Linked DNA regions of Homo sapiens: region 1 is linked to region 2. Evidence: promoter capture Hi-C in 16 types of primary human blood cells and fetal thymus (Javierre and others, 2016). All regions are on one chromosome and are shown on one strand. Each heading gives the region's core, a stretch centred on a gene start or on the middle of the fragment in contact. The rest is flanking DNA. Distances are from core to core; before and after follow the strand shown. Region 1 holds the start of CRPPA (CDP-L-ribitol pyrophosphorylase A). Region 2 holds the start of PHF14 (PHD finger protein 14).

What was found. Contacts are between HindIII fragments. The CHiCAGO score rates a contact against its expected background, and 5 or more counts as called.
Region 1: a contact is called between the fragment with the promoter of CRPPA here and the fragment with the promoter of PHF14 in region 2, in 2 of 17 cell types (activated CD4 T cells and total CD8 T cells). The highest score is 6.1, in activated CD4 T cells.

Annotation. Positions count from the first base shown.
Region 1 is chr7:16,420,288-16,427,571 of GRCh38, forward strand. CRPPA (CDP-L-ribitol pyrophosphorylase A) reads right to left here and starts at 1,251. Exons shown (of 10, transcript NM_001101426.4): 1 at 779-1,251. The coding sequence starts at 1,035. It overlaps LOC105375168 (a long non-coding RNA gene), which reads left to right and starts at 399. Exons shown (of 5, transcript XR_007060223.1): 1 at 399-695; 2 at 2,693-2,750. RefSeq lists silencers at 842-901, 922-1,061. The HindIII fragment of the contact is 1,514 bases long and covers 653-2,166 here.
Region 2 is chr7:10,969,708-10,976,401 of GRCh38, forward strand. PHF14 (PHD finger protein 14) reads left to right here and starts at 4,165. Exons shown (of 18, transcript NM_001007157.2): 1 at 4,165-4,617; 2 at 5,128-5,238. The coding sequence starts at 4,617. RefSeq lists silencers at 3,360-3,409, 3,920-3,979, 4,960-5,009 and an enhancer at 3,935-4,229. The HindIII fragment of the contact is 4,357 bases long and covers 3,583-6,694 here.

The DNA of each region.
Region 1 (7,284 bases), core at 1-2,500, 5.4 Mb after region 2:
ATATTTGTAATGCCGCTGCTTCCCACCCCTGCACCCTCGCCCCAAGCTCCACCTCATTACTCAGTGCTAAAAGCAAAGTAAGTTAATATTATAACATACCCCTTCATTTCACTTCCTCAGCTCCTCACGACTGTTCCCCTAGTCCTCCTTATCCCATTCCCTGTCTCCTTCATTTCCCCAACTAGTTAACTTCAGTGCCCTTTCTAAGATAAAGGGGGTATGACCTCAAATTCAGGCTTAAAGCCCTTTCCACCATTGAAAGGTTATTAAATTCTGCTCCTCTCCCCTCCTGCAGCACCTAGTAATTAGCGCAGCCTGTCTCACAGAAGGTGCTCAGTAAATGAATGAAAAAAACGAACACACGCCCTGGAAACTTCAGTGTGCACGTACAACTCAATCCACGCATGCGCGGAGGCAGAGCCCCAGGACCGCGAGACTATCCGCACAGCTTCTCCTCAGGCCCCACAGCTAGAACCCCAAATCGCCTAGTCCCAACCCATGCACTCTCTAATCGGCGCCACACGACGGGCCTTCCCCACAACCTCATCTGCTTGGGGACGTAAAGGGCTCTGTGGGGGAGCTGCAGCTTTCGTGCCCATCTGTTAAAGGCCAGAACTTCCCATCTCTGAAATGCGGGAGGGAACAGAGCTCAAGCTTGAATAACTGAGCGCGGCCCGGCAGTCCCCCAAGTGAAGGTGCTAGCGCTAGAGCAGCGGCAGGGCGGGGAGCGGGAGGCCGGGCCCCAGGGAACCGCGGGGCGCGCCCGGCGCCGCATTACCTCTCCAGGGCCTGTAGGGTGTAGCTGATGAGCGGCCTCTCCAGGATGGGGCAGAATTGCTTCGGGGTGGGGACCCCCATCCTCTCCCCGCACCCCCCGGCAGGCAACACAGCTGCCACGGCTTGCGGGTGGCGCCCGGGCTCGGTCCCGGCCACGCTCTGCAGGGAGGCGGAAGCCGTGTGGTCCGCGCCGCGCTGACCACTCAGGCAAGGACCCGGCTCCGCCGGCCTGGCGCTGCCCGGCGGCCCGGCCTCCATGGCTGCGGGCGGAACGGCGAGCCCCGCTAGCCTCGGGCCGATGCGACCCCGCGCTGCTCCCACCCTCGGCCGGGGTCGCGGGGCGAAGGGCAGACCACGGAGAGGGACGCAGAGCGCGCAAGCAGAAGGCGCCCCCCTCAGCCGTCGGAGCCCCGCTGTTGCTGCCCCGCAGGGGACGATCCCGACAGCTACGGCAGCAGCTGAGGCTGCCGATCTGCCCTCGCGGCTCGGCTGCGGCCTCCGCACCCGGTCCCAGCGCCTGCGGGAGGGCTGACTTGCCCGCTCTGCGCTTCCCCCGGGCAGGCCCAGCTGTCGCCGCAAGTGGAAATGTCAGAACGCCCTACATATCTAAAGATCGCAGATACTCAAGGGCCATGAGTATGCAGGAGAGGTCAGGCCTCTGTCCCATCCCTCCCTGCTTTAAAATTTCGGAAGAGATTGGGATTCAAGTCACAGGATGGGACGTAGGGTGCGTATGCACCTCGATTATCTGAATTCCATTAAGCTCTGGAGGCTTCCTGGTTCCACCTGGGGTAAAGACAGATGGATTAGCAAGTGTTATTGTGGCACATCAATAATCCAAACTGTGGTGGCTCTCAAACTTGTCTGCACTTTGGAACCACCTGGGGAGCGTGTCCTGACACGCTCAGAGATTGGGATTTAATTGGTCTGGTGAGCACCGGACTTTGGAATGTTTTTAAAGATCCTCGGGTGATTCTGATGAGCAGGCATGTTTTGGAACCATAGGGTCAAAGCAATACTAATTGCTGAACAATCGATACACCTTATGTCATTTAGTCCCCAGAAGAACTCAACTATTGCCATTTCCCTTTTTACAAAGGGGAAAAGACGTTAAAATGGTTAATTTATGTAAGATTGCACAACTAATGGCAGAGGAGCCTTAAGGCCCTCATACAGAAGTAGGCCAAAGTTGAAGAATTCCAGGCCTAAAGCATATCTTACCTTATTTAGTACTCTTGTTGCTGGTGAGGTTTACCATGAAAGTATAGTGAGAATTTGGAGGAGAGCACTATTGTATTAGGTCCCTGGAATGTAAACTCCATGCAAGCAGCAACATTTTTCTTTTGGCTTGGGTTGTGTGTGTGTGCCCAGCTCCTGGAATGTAACACAAGCTTAATATGTATTGAATGAATTGCTGATTAAATAGATTAATGATCATTAAAGTGTATAATCATCAGTAATTCAGTCTTAATCCAGTGGCTTATGATTAATAAAAAATAATCTTTTTAAACACTGGAAATGTTATCTAGTTGTAGTATTACAATTTTTATTTTTACCTGTTTTCTTGAGAGCATATAAAAATATGTTTTCTGCTTTTCCTTTTTGTTTAGTCTTATTGAAGGCATTCTTTCACTTTTGTTACTTTTATTATAATTAGCATTTAGGTCCTGTGCTAGTTGGTTTCTTAACTGAAAAGTGGGTGCCATAATATACTTCCTTGTAATTTTTATTGCTATCGTTCCTTTCTAATTTGATCTCGAGGTCTCTCTCTTACGAGTGGCCATAAGCCAGAACAGCCACTCTTCAGGAGAGCCCTGGCCCAGAGAGGAAAGCTAGGTTCTGGTGTGCAGGTGAGACGCCAGAGGAGGCAGCACACAAAACATGTGAAATAACAGGCGCATTTTATTACTTACAGATTCACCAGAGAATAAGCCTGATGGAAGTCTGGAGATAACAGGACTCCCAACCAGCAGGTGGGGTGCAAGAGAGAGGACCTGTGGGGCTGTGTTAAGGTCCAAAGGCTTTATCCCTTAGGCTTTCCAGAGGGGGTTGTGGATTGACTAGTTTAAAGAAAACACCAGCAAAGGGAGAACTTGACTCTGGTGTTGACCATTGGGTTTTATCATGGTTAGCAGCTGTTGGGTTTTTGGTCATGGAATGAGGAATAAGTGTTCTATATCACAGGGAGGGGAAGTTTTAAGTAGGCCACAGGTGACGTGATACAACTGGGTTTCAAACAGCTTATATCAGGCCTAAAAATGGATGCCCAGGCAGCAACTATATTAAACAAGTTTGGCACAATACTTGACTTCATAGCGCCACTACCACACCTGTATCAAGCATTTAAATATCTGTTGACTAACTGGGTGGATAAATAAATGAGTCTATCTATGAGAGCAGGAAGGCAAATCGAATTAGTATTTCTATTAATATTGATCTTTAAACCTCCCTTTTTAATCTAAAGGTGGAGTTGTTATAAAGGTATTCTTCCTTTACTTAATCTTGAGTGAAGAAAAGTAGAGTAATAAAGCTCTTGTTATACTAATTGCTATAGAATAATTTTATATAATTAAACATTGACAAATTTTAACTAGAATCTTAGTTTTGTTCTTAGAGCAGATATATCAATTTAGATCTTCCATGAATCCTTAGATCCTTAGATCTTATATACTGTATATTAACAATGTCTAGCAGACCAACTTGTAGAGAAAAAAGGGCACATTAAAGTATTCATTCATATACGTAGTATGAAGCAACATTTTTCTCTCTGTCCTTTTTATATAAATATAATTAGTTCCATGTTTTGCATACTTTGGGGTAACAGATGTAGCTTCCTTGTTACTTAATACCAAGTTATAGCAGCCACAATATGAGAATATCTTCTCTGCATCAGGCATGTGAAAGTACATACCCTGAAAAGTGAACTCCTCTGGGACCCATTGGTAATAACAATTCTAAGATATCACTTGAAGAGTTTAGAAAAAATAAACCCCAACTGAATCATGAGGCAGAGCATGCAGAGTTGGAAGTTCCTGGAGTGGTTTCCATTTTGAGCTTCCAAGTAGGCAAAATAATGACTCCCCAAAGATGCCCATGCTCTTATCTCCAGAAGCTATGAATATGTTACCTTACACTGCTAAAGAGACATTGCAGATGTGATTAAGTGAAGGATCTCAAGATGGAGGGGAGTAGCCTGGATTATCCAGGTGGGCCCTGTGTAATCTCTGGCATCCTTATAGGAGAGAGGTCAGAGTTAGAGAAGGAGGTATGAGGATGGAAGCAGCCATCAGAGTGCAGAGGGGTGGGAATGTAGGCAACCTCTAAAAGCTGGAAAAGGCAAGGAAACAGGTTTTTCTCTTAGAGCCTGCAGAATAATATAGCCCTGCCACCCCATTTTCAGATTTCTGATATCCAGAACTGTAAGATAACATACTTGAGTTGTTTTAAGCTGCTAAATCTGTGGTAATTTATTATAGCAGCAAGAGGAAACTAATACAGGCTTCACACTGAGGAAGATTCTCATTTGGACTATAATCTGCAAATGAAGTTATACGTAGTTAGAAATGCAGTAATATGATTGAAAAAATAAGGCACTGTTCATTCAACTTTATGTCTCGTTACTAGAACCCCAGTATTGACTTTTAAAATAAATCCTTTGTCTTGTGAATTTAAAAATGTATTATAAATGTTTAAAGCATAACTTTGTTAAATGTATACCACGATTTCATAACCTGGCTTTGGCATGCCTTTAATTTTTTAAAGTAGACTAAGTGTAGTTTTAGGTTCACAGCAAAATTGAGAGAAAGGTACAAAAATTTCCAATAGCTCCCTGCCCCACACATACATAGCCTCCCACATTATTAACATCTCCCACCAGAGTGGTACATTGGTTACAACTGATGAACCTACAGTGACACATCATTATAACCCACAGTCCCTAGTTTACGTTAGAGTTCACACTTGGTGTTGTACATTCATTCTATAGGATTGATAAATTTACAGTGATGTGTATCCACCATTACAGTATCATGCAGAGTAATTTCACTGCCCTAAAATCCTCTATCCTCTGTCTATTCATGCCTTCCTCTCCTCTAATCCCTGCCCAATCCCTGGCATCCAATTATCTTTTTACTGCCTCCATGCTTTTGCCTTTTCCAGAACATCATATAGTTGGAACCATACAGTATTCTTTTCAGATTGGCTTCTTTCACTTAGTAATATGCATTTAAGTTTTCTCCATATCTTTTCATGGCTTGACAGCTTCTTTCTCTTTAACACTGATTTTTTTTTTTTTTCTGGATGTACTGTGATGTATTTATTCACTCACCTACTGAAAGACATCTTGTTTGCTTCCAAGTTTTGGCAATTATGATTAAGCTGTAATAAACATCTCTGTGTAGGGTTTTTTTTAATTTTATTTTAAGTTCTGGGGTACATGTGCAGGATGTGCAGGTTTGTTACAAAGGTAAACGTATGCCATGGTGGTTTGCTGTACCTATCAACCCTTGACCTAGGTATTAAACCCAGCATGCATTAGCTATTTTTCCTAATGTTCTCCCTCCCCACTCCCCATCTCCCTACAGGTCCCGGTGTGGTTCCCCTCCCCGTGTTCTGATTATTCAGCTCTCACTTATAAGTGAGAACATGCGGTGTTTGGTTTTCTGTTCCTCTGTGCAGGTTTTTATGTGTACAAAAATTTTCAATTCCTTTGGGTAAATACCAAGGAGAAAGATTGCTGAATTGCACGGGCAAAAGTATGGTCAGTTTTGTAAGAAACGGCCAAACGGTCCTCCAAAATAGGTATACCATTTTGCATTCCCACCAGCAATGAATGAGAGTTTCTGTTGCTTCACATCCTCACCAGCATTTGGTGTGTCAGTGTTCTGGATGTTGGCCATTCTAATAGGTGTGTAGTGGTATCTCAGTGTTGATTTAATTTGTATTTATTTGATGACATATGATGTTGAGCATTGTTCATATGCGTATTTGTCATGTGTATCATATTTGGTGAGGTGTCAGAGTCTTTGGCCCACTTTTTAGTTGGGTCATTTGTGTTTTTATTGTTCAGTTTTGAGAGTTCTTTGTTTATTTTGAAGAACAATTTTTTATCTGATATTACTTTGGCAAATATTTTCTCTGTGGCTTGTCTTCTTATTCTCAACAGTGTCTTTTGCAGAGCAGAAATTTTTAGTGATAATGAAGTCCAGCTTATCAATTGTTTTTCATGGATCATGCCTTTGGTGGTGCTTTTAAAAAATGATCACCTAGGTTTTCTGCTATGCTATCTATTAGGAGTTTTATAGTTTTGTGGGTTTTTTTAGGTCGGTGATTCATTTAGGTCAGTGAGTTTTGAGTTAATTTTGTAAAGGGTATAAGGTTTGTCTAGATTATTTGTTGTTTTTGCATGTAGATATGCAGTTGTTGCAGCAACATTTGTTGAAAAGACTGTCTTCGCTTCATTTTGTTGCCTTTGCTCCTTTGTCAAAGATCAGTTGACTGTATTTATTTGAGTCTAATTCTGGTTTCTTTATAATGTTCCATTGATTCATTTGTACATCCTTTAGTCAATACCACACTGTCCTGATTACTGTAGCTTTTTATATGTCTTGAGATCCAGTAGTGTCTGTCTTCCAACTTTGTTCTTCTTCAATATCGTGTTGGCTATTCTGGGTCTCTTGCCTCTCCATATAAACTTAAAAATCAGTTTGTCAATGTCCACAAAATAACTTGCTGGTATTTTGATTGGGATTGCATTGAATTTATAGATTAATTTTGGAAGAACTGACATCTTGACAACATTGAGTCTTTCTACCCACAAACATGGAACATCTTTACTTAGTTCTTTTGTGATATCTTTCATCAGTTTTGTACTTTTTCTCATATGGATCTTGTACATGTTGTCTTAAATGTACACCTAAGGATTTCATGGGGGGGTTAATGTAAATAATACTGTGTTTTTAATTTCAAATTCCACTTGTTCATTACTGGTATATAGAAAATGACTGACTTTTTTGTATTAACCTTGGATCCTACAGCACTGCTATAATCACTTATTAGTTCCTGCCGTTGTCTTTACTTTTTAGTATGCACAGAAGTGCACAATAAATGGAAGTGGCTCTCATCTTTATATCTGAAATACCCAAAACTTACTTTTTTGTTTGTTTGTTTGTCTTTACATGTTAGTATACCTCTCTGGAATACTTGTCTTAGAGATTTCTTTTATTAGAAAATTTTAGTTTCCAGTGGGTTAATTTTTTTAGTATTAACTCAAATATAATTAGCACTACCAGTCATACCCCTCCTCCCCAGCTACACTTATTGTTTTAGTACCCTTTCTTGAGATTAGTTGGGGTGTTTCTCATCAGTACTAATGAACAGCTTAACGGTTCATCCTTTAACTCCACTGAAATCAGAGCCAGAAGAAATAAATTAACATTCTACCATGGGCCATCCCCATAATTTCTGGCAGCCTATGAATTCTAATTTCTGTTTTGCTATTGTGTATCT
Region 2 (6,694 bases), core at 2,915-5,414:
TACACTGTTATCTGCTTCTCAAAACTTTAAGTAACCAGACAGGTTATTAATATTATTTCCAGATTCTGGGTGATGAATCAGAGGCTCAATGTTGCCTTTTTTTAGGGTAACACAAATTCAGTGGCCAAGCCTAGACCAAAATTCGGATCTCCAGACTCTTAAGTTTGCTGTCTTTTGTATACATATTTGTTTCTTTTTCTTACAGTAGGTGTCCACAACAAGCTATTTATTTTACTATCTTTTGTTGGAGTAGTTTGAAAGACCATTTCTGAATATAGAACTCTGCTTTTCATAATTATTACTGATGCTTGTGCAGTCATATTTAGTTTGCTTAATTAGACAGAATTGTGGACATTAAGAATATTATTTGGCAAAATCCTACATTGAGGCAGTTTGTGCTCGCTGTTTTTTGGAAATGATAATTATTATATAATTCTTCTTCTTTGTGTAGTCATGCATAAATATCTTGAATTTGAATACCTGGCAACTAGAATAAAAGAGAAACATGATGGATTACATAACATAAATATTCTACCAAGAAGATGGCAGAGCATTAGGAGACTCAAAATTTTCTGAGTTAAGGCTGGGTGCAGTGGCTCACACTTGTAATCCCAGTACTTTGAGAGGCTGAGGTGGGCGATCAGTTGAGGTCAGGAGTTGAAGGCCAGCCTGGCCAACATGGTGAAACCCTGTCTCTACTAAAATTATAAAACTTAGCCAGGGATGGTAGCAGGCATCTGTAATCCCAGTTACCAGGGAGGCTGAGGCAGGAGAATCACTTGAACCTGGGAGGCGGAGGTTGCAGTGAGCTGAGATTGCTGCCACTACACACTCCAGCCGGGGCAACAAAGCAATACTCCATCCCCCTACAGCTCCCCCAAAAAATTCTGAGTTAAGAATGCCAAGAGTAATTTATCACATACGCCTTAAAGATGTTCAGCAGAATATTATTGGAGATGCTATTATAGCCAGTTTACAACCAATAAAGACAAATTCTTTATATGACATCAAAATGTAATTTCCTTTATAAATATGGGTGCAAAAATCAACAAAATACTAGCAAACTGAATCTAGCATCTATAAAAAGATTTATACAACATGACTAAGTAGAATTTATACTAGAAGTGCAAGGTTGATTAAACAAATAAAAATCAAGCAATATAGTAATATACTATATTGAAAAAATAAAGTACAAAAATCACATGATCATCTCAATAGACAGAGAAAGAGTATTTAATAAAATTCGAAGCTCTTTCATGATAAAAACAGTTGGCAAACTAGGAACAGGAAAGTTCCTCCACCTGAAAAAGGGCATCTTTGAAAAACTATAGATAACATAAGACTAAGTGGAAGACTGAAAGTTTTCTTCCTAAAGTCAGAAACAAGACAAAGAAGTCTTTCCCTCACCACATTTATTCAACAATGTTCTGCAGGTTCTAGGCAGAGCAATTAGGCAAGAAAAAGCAATAACAAGCATTCACAAAAGGGAGGGAAAAGTTCAAGCCCCTTCATTTAATATCATTTCCTGGAAGTTGCACGTACTGTTTCTGCTGACATGCAATTGGCCAGAACTTAACTGCATAACTCCAAGCAACATCAAGAAAGTTGGTATATTATGTCTTTATTCTTTGAAAACTTATGCCCAGTTAAAATTTGGAGCTTCCATTTTTGAAGAAAAAGGAGATAATGGGTATTGGGAAACAACCAGCAGTTCTTTCCATGTTTATTGAATGCAGGTCAAAAAAAGGAATTAGGTAATTTTTTTCTTTTCTTTTTACCCTACTTTTCTTCTTCCTTTTTCCCTCCCTCTCTTCCTTCCCTCCTTTTCTCCTTCTTTCCTTCTCTTACTTTCTTTCAATACATGAATTGCAAAAGATTAATAACCTAAATGCAATATTGTCTTCTGGATTGGATCTTGGAACAGAAAAAAGGACATTAGTAGGAAAATTAGTGAAATATAAATAAAGTGTTTAGTCAACAAAACTGTACTCATGTTAGTTTCTTAGTTTTGATAAATGTATTATGGTTATATAAGATACTGATATTAGTGGTAGCTAGGTGAAGGATGTACAAAAACTCAGTATTATTATTGCACTTTTTGGTAAATCTGAAATTACTTCAAAATTAAAAGTTAAAAAAAAATGATTGCTGATATCCAATGGCCACAGGTTTGGAAAACTAGAAAGAATTCTTATCCACTCTTGGTGGTATATATATTAGTACAGACTTTTTTTTTTTTTTTTTTGAGACGGAGTTTCACTCTTGTCACCCAGGCTGGAATGCAGTGGCGTGATCTCTGCTCACTGCAACCTCTGCCTCCCAGGTTCAAGTGATTCTCCTGCCTCAGCCTCCCAAGTAGCTGGAATTACAGGTATGTGCCACCACGCCCAGCTAATTTTTGTATTTTTAGTAGACACGGGGTTTCATCATGTTGGGCAGGCTGGTCTCGAACTCCCAACCTCAAGTGATCCACCCGCCTCAGCCTCCCAAAGTGTTGGGATTACAGGCGTGAGCCACCGCACCCGGCAGTACAGTTTTTCTAGAGCAACTAGGTGTTATTTATTAAAGTAAATGAATTAATACATTTTGATTCTGAAAATCTCCTTCTAGAAATTAGTTTTACATAAACACGAATGCCAGATTTTGAATTTCTCTTTTAGATGATTCAGCATAATTGCTCCAAATAAATCTAAAAGGCTATTGTCAAACAGTGGAATATTTGGATTTATAATTTCATAGATAAGACTATCAGTCCATGATATGGTTGGTGTTTAAAGTAGAATGGAAGTGAAATTCCCAGAGTGGAGTTTTTAAAATAACCAAGTTCCTAGGATTTTAACTGGAAGAATAAATATCTGAAAGGCAATGAGGAGTATTAAGCATGGGATGCCACTTCTGCACCTTGAGAAAATGAAGTATGGAAGGATGAGTGGTTTTCATTTGAGAGGGCTGCAGGGTAACTGTTTCTATTTCAGATGAGGAGGTAAAAAGAATGGGCATTGAAAAGGAAAAATGTTTACTAAGTAGGTTATACATTTTGGAATAGAAGTTTCTATAGCACAATAGAAAAGTTTGAGAGGTCACATGGCAATGATAGTTTGGGTGAGAGTGAGGCAGGAGAATAGGGTGTGGAGGCAGGGAACCTAAGGATGTGTCACTCCGACTTCCTAAGAACTAAATTGAAAGGAAACCCCTAACTTTCCATGCCTAAGTAACAAAAGGACCAGAGGCTACTCCCTTTGCAAACCCCCACTTTTTCTGCAGGGCAGATGGGAAATTGGCTGTGGGCAGCAAATCAGACTGATTGCAGGAGAGTCTTCCTTTGCATAGAAGTATCACTTTGTAACTTCACCATCTGCAAGAAATCAAACTGATTGCAGGGGAAATCTTCCTTTGCATAGAGGTATACCACTTTGTAACTTCACCCTAGCCTCTGATTGATTGCTTTTTGCACCAATGTTTGCACAGGAGCATGACCTTTGTAACTTCACTTCAGCCTCTGGTTGGCTGCTTTCTGCAACCAATCAGACTGATTGCGCGTTACTTCATTTACATGAGGTGAGCATTAGGTGGCCAATAGGAAGCTTCTAGAGGGTATTTGGACTCAAGATTCTGTATCCGGGCCCTTGAGCCGCTGCTCAGGTCGCTTCCGTACAGAGCGTGCTTTAATTTTCAATAAGTCCCTGCTTTTGTTGTTTTGTTGCTTCATTCTTTCTTTGCTTTGCTGGGCGTTTTGTCCAATTCTTTGTTAAAAACGCCAAGAACCTGGACAACTTGCAGTCACGATCCTCTACCGGTGACAATATCATTTAAATATTGGTAGTGGCTTAAGGTAGCAAACATCCCTTTGTGGAACGTTTACTCAGTAAATCCTTAAAAAACAGATCAGAAACAAAAACTGGCCTCCCAGGGATTTGGACTCAGGAGGTGAATTAGGCGCGGAGAGGGCGGAGCCTTTGGGGTTTATGGGCGGAATTGCACAGGGTTTGGCGGGGATCTCTGCTCCGCCTTGGCACTACTCGGCTCCGCTCGCCTCCGCGCGGCTCCCTGGGCTTTCACTCGGCTCTGTTCGGCTCCTGCTCGGGAAGGGTGCGCGGGGGCGAGTCCTGCGCATGCGCCCTCAATTCCTGCTGCTCTCAGGGCTGCGCTCAGCCTCGTGTTTTCACTTCCTTTTCAGAGCTGTATCCGGGTCGCTGCTTTCCCTATTGTCTGAGGCAGCCGCCCTCGCGCTGTGCAATTTCTGGTCTTTCGTTGCTTCTGGTCCAGGCTAATAAAGTTTTTCTTTCTTTAATTTTTTTTCTTCTAGTTTTAACGGGAGAAATTAACTCCCCGGGGCCGCCGGGTTGACTGCGCTGCCTGGGCCGGAGGTCTTCTCCGGCCAGGGAGCGCTGTGGGAAGGGGCTCGAGCGGCCAGGGCCAGGCGAGGCCGGGGGGGCGGGGGGTTAGGGGACCGCGGGGCTACTCTTGGGAGCGCCCCTGTCCGGCTGGCTGCGCGCCGGTTTTAAATAGCATCTTTCGGACTTGTCTTCGCGGCCCCAGTCCCCGACCTCGGCGCTGCCTGGGCTCCTGCAGCCTCTCCCTAAGTCTTCTCCAAACGACCACCTCACGGATTCCTTAGTAAGTGTATCCGAGGCCTCTGCGGCGAGAGGTCCATTTCAGCCATTCTAGAAGTCAGGGCCGGTGGGAGCAGGGCAGGGGTGGGAGAGTCCTGCGGGAAAGCAGGATTGGTGGACCCTCGCCCTCCATGGTCCGCGGGAATGAAGCCCGCTTGTTTTATTCCCTGATTTTTGCCGTTTTTATTGACTGTTACGATGTCTAAGTGGGGGATTACGAGGAAGGTGCAGAAACATCTCGAAAAGATGAGCAAGAGGGTCAGCTTCGATTTTAGCTGGTCTGAGTTGGCGTTGGCAGCATCAGGGCTGGAGCTGCCTTTGAAACTGCCCGTGGAGCTGTCCAGCCCTCCCCACCCTGCTTCTGCACCCCAACCTTCTCCTGACCCCTTTTGCTGAGAACTCAGTTAGACAAAAATTCCTTGTGCGAGGTCATCTTTATGTTCTCTTAGCACCACAACTCTCCCCTGTGTTTGGTGTGATTATGAATGACAATGTAATTTTTTTCTCTTCACAGTGGATCGCAGCTCCAAGAGGAGGCAGGTGAAGCCTTTGGCAGCTTCTCTGCTGGAAGCTCTTGATTATGATAGTTCAGATGACAGTGATTTTAAAGTTGGAGATGCCTCAGGTAAATATTTCCTTCTCTCTTCCCCTTTCCCAGCTTTCTGGAGTTAGGCTTATTTTTAGACTTTTTAAATCGGTTTTGATTAAAATGCCAATTTTAAGTGAAAGCACGTAAACTTCATTTATTTTGTCCATTTGATTTCCCATTTTGCCTTTAGATCCTGTCACTAGACCTATAATTGCTTCTGTTTTCCTCAGAGATAATTAGCAGTCAGGGGAAGGACTTTTTCCAAAGATGCAAAAGGATTTCTCTGTTTTACACCTTAAAATATATTTATGCTTATATTATAGAGGAAAAAACTGAAAGATATCCCGAAGTAGAAAAGTATCCTGAGAGGTGTGTGGACCATTAATAGTCCCTGAGCAGGGTTCTTCTTTTTTCAGATCACTTGACAATCTCTTAGGGGAGTTTTGCTTTTTTTGTGTATTAGCTCTTTTACTAGAATAAAATTGACCAGAGTAAGAGTTGCACTTCAAATTATAGTAGGTGCTGGACCTTGTGGATTGGGCCTTTCAGATGTCTCTGAAGTATAAGTCATGCATGCTTGCTCACTATATTTAGTAATTTTAAAAACTTTTTTTAAAGGTCGTATATTCACATTGTACTAAACTGGAAAACAGAAAAGTATGATTTTCCTTTGTATTTTCTGTTCAGTGTACCTTATGTATATATACAGTTTCAATTGAAGGAATCTGAGAAACAAAAATTATGTTTAATTTAAATGTTTTATGGGAAAAATACTGATAAACATGAACAATGAAAATTATGTGTAATTCCACCTCTTTTGAAAATTTTAATAAAGTGAGATGAAAATTTAAATAAAATGAGAAGTAAAAGCCTTTCCAGTTTCATCTCTTCAACAGTTTTTAAATATACTTCCAGAGAGTTTGCCGTGGTTAGTCACATCTCTCCTTCTTCTGGTTTTCCCTTGTCTTTTTCCTGCTAGGGATAGTAGGAAGGGATGAACGAAATTATATTACTGTTGCTACTTTTAGTAGCATCAACAGCAGAATTTGCATTGTGATTTACTGATAACTTTTTGTTTGCATAATCTCACTTAATTTTCACAGTAACTTAGTGAAGGAGATACCATTTTACAGGTAACAGGGGTATTGAGTTTAAAGAACTGGCATGAGGTCACTCAGGCAGTAACGGATCCAATGGATTTGACTTCAGAATTTAGTCTGTTTATCTGCTTGGATCCCAAGAGTTGATGGACGGAATCTTAAACAGAAACTGACTATTTGGTTACTAATTGAATTCATCCGCAGCAATCAAAAATTGATAAGTTTATCTTGATTAACTGTTTTTTTATCCTTTGCTTCTCAGCTCTTTATCTCCCATTTAGTTGGTTTGCTGATATTTGGTATTTCCAAAGAAGGGAAGGGGAAGGGAAAGGAGGTAAAATTTAAATCTTAGTTCTCTTGGTAAAGACCTTGGCAGATAAGAATATTCCTGG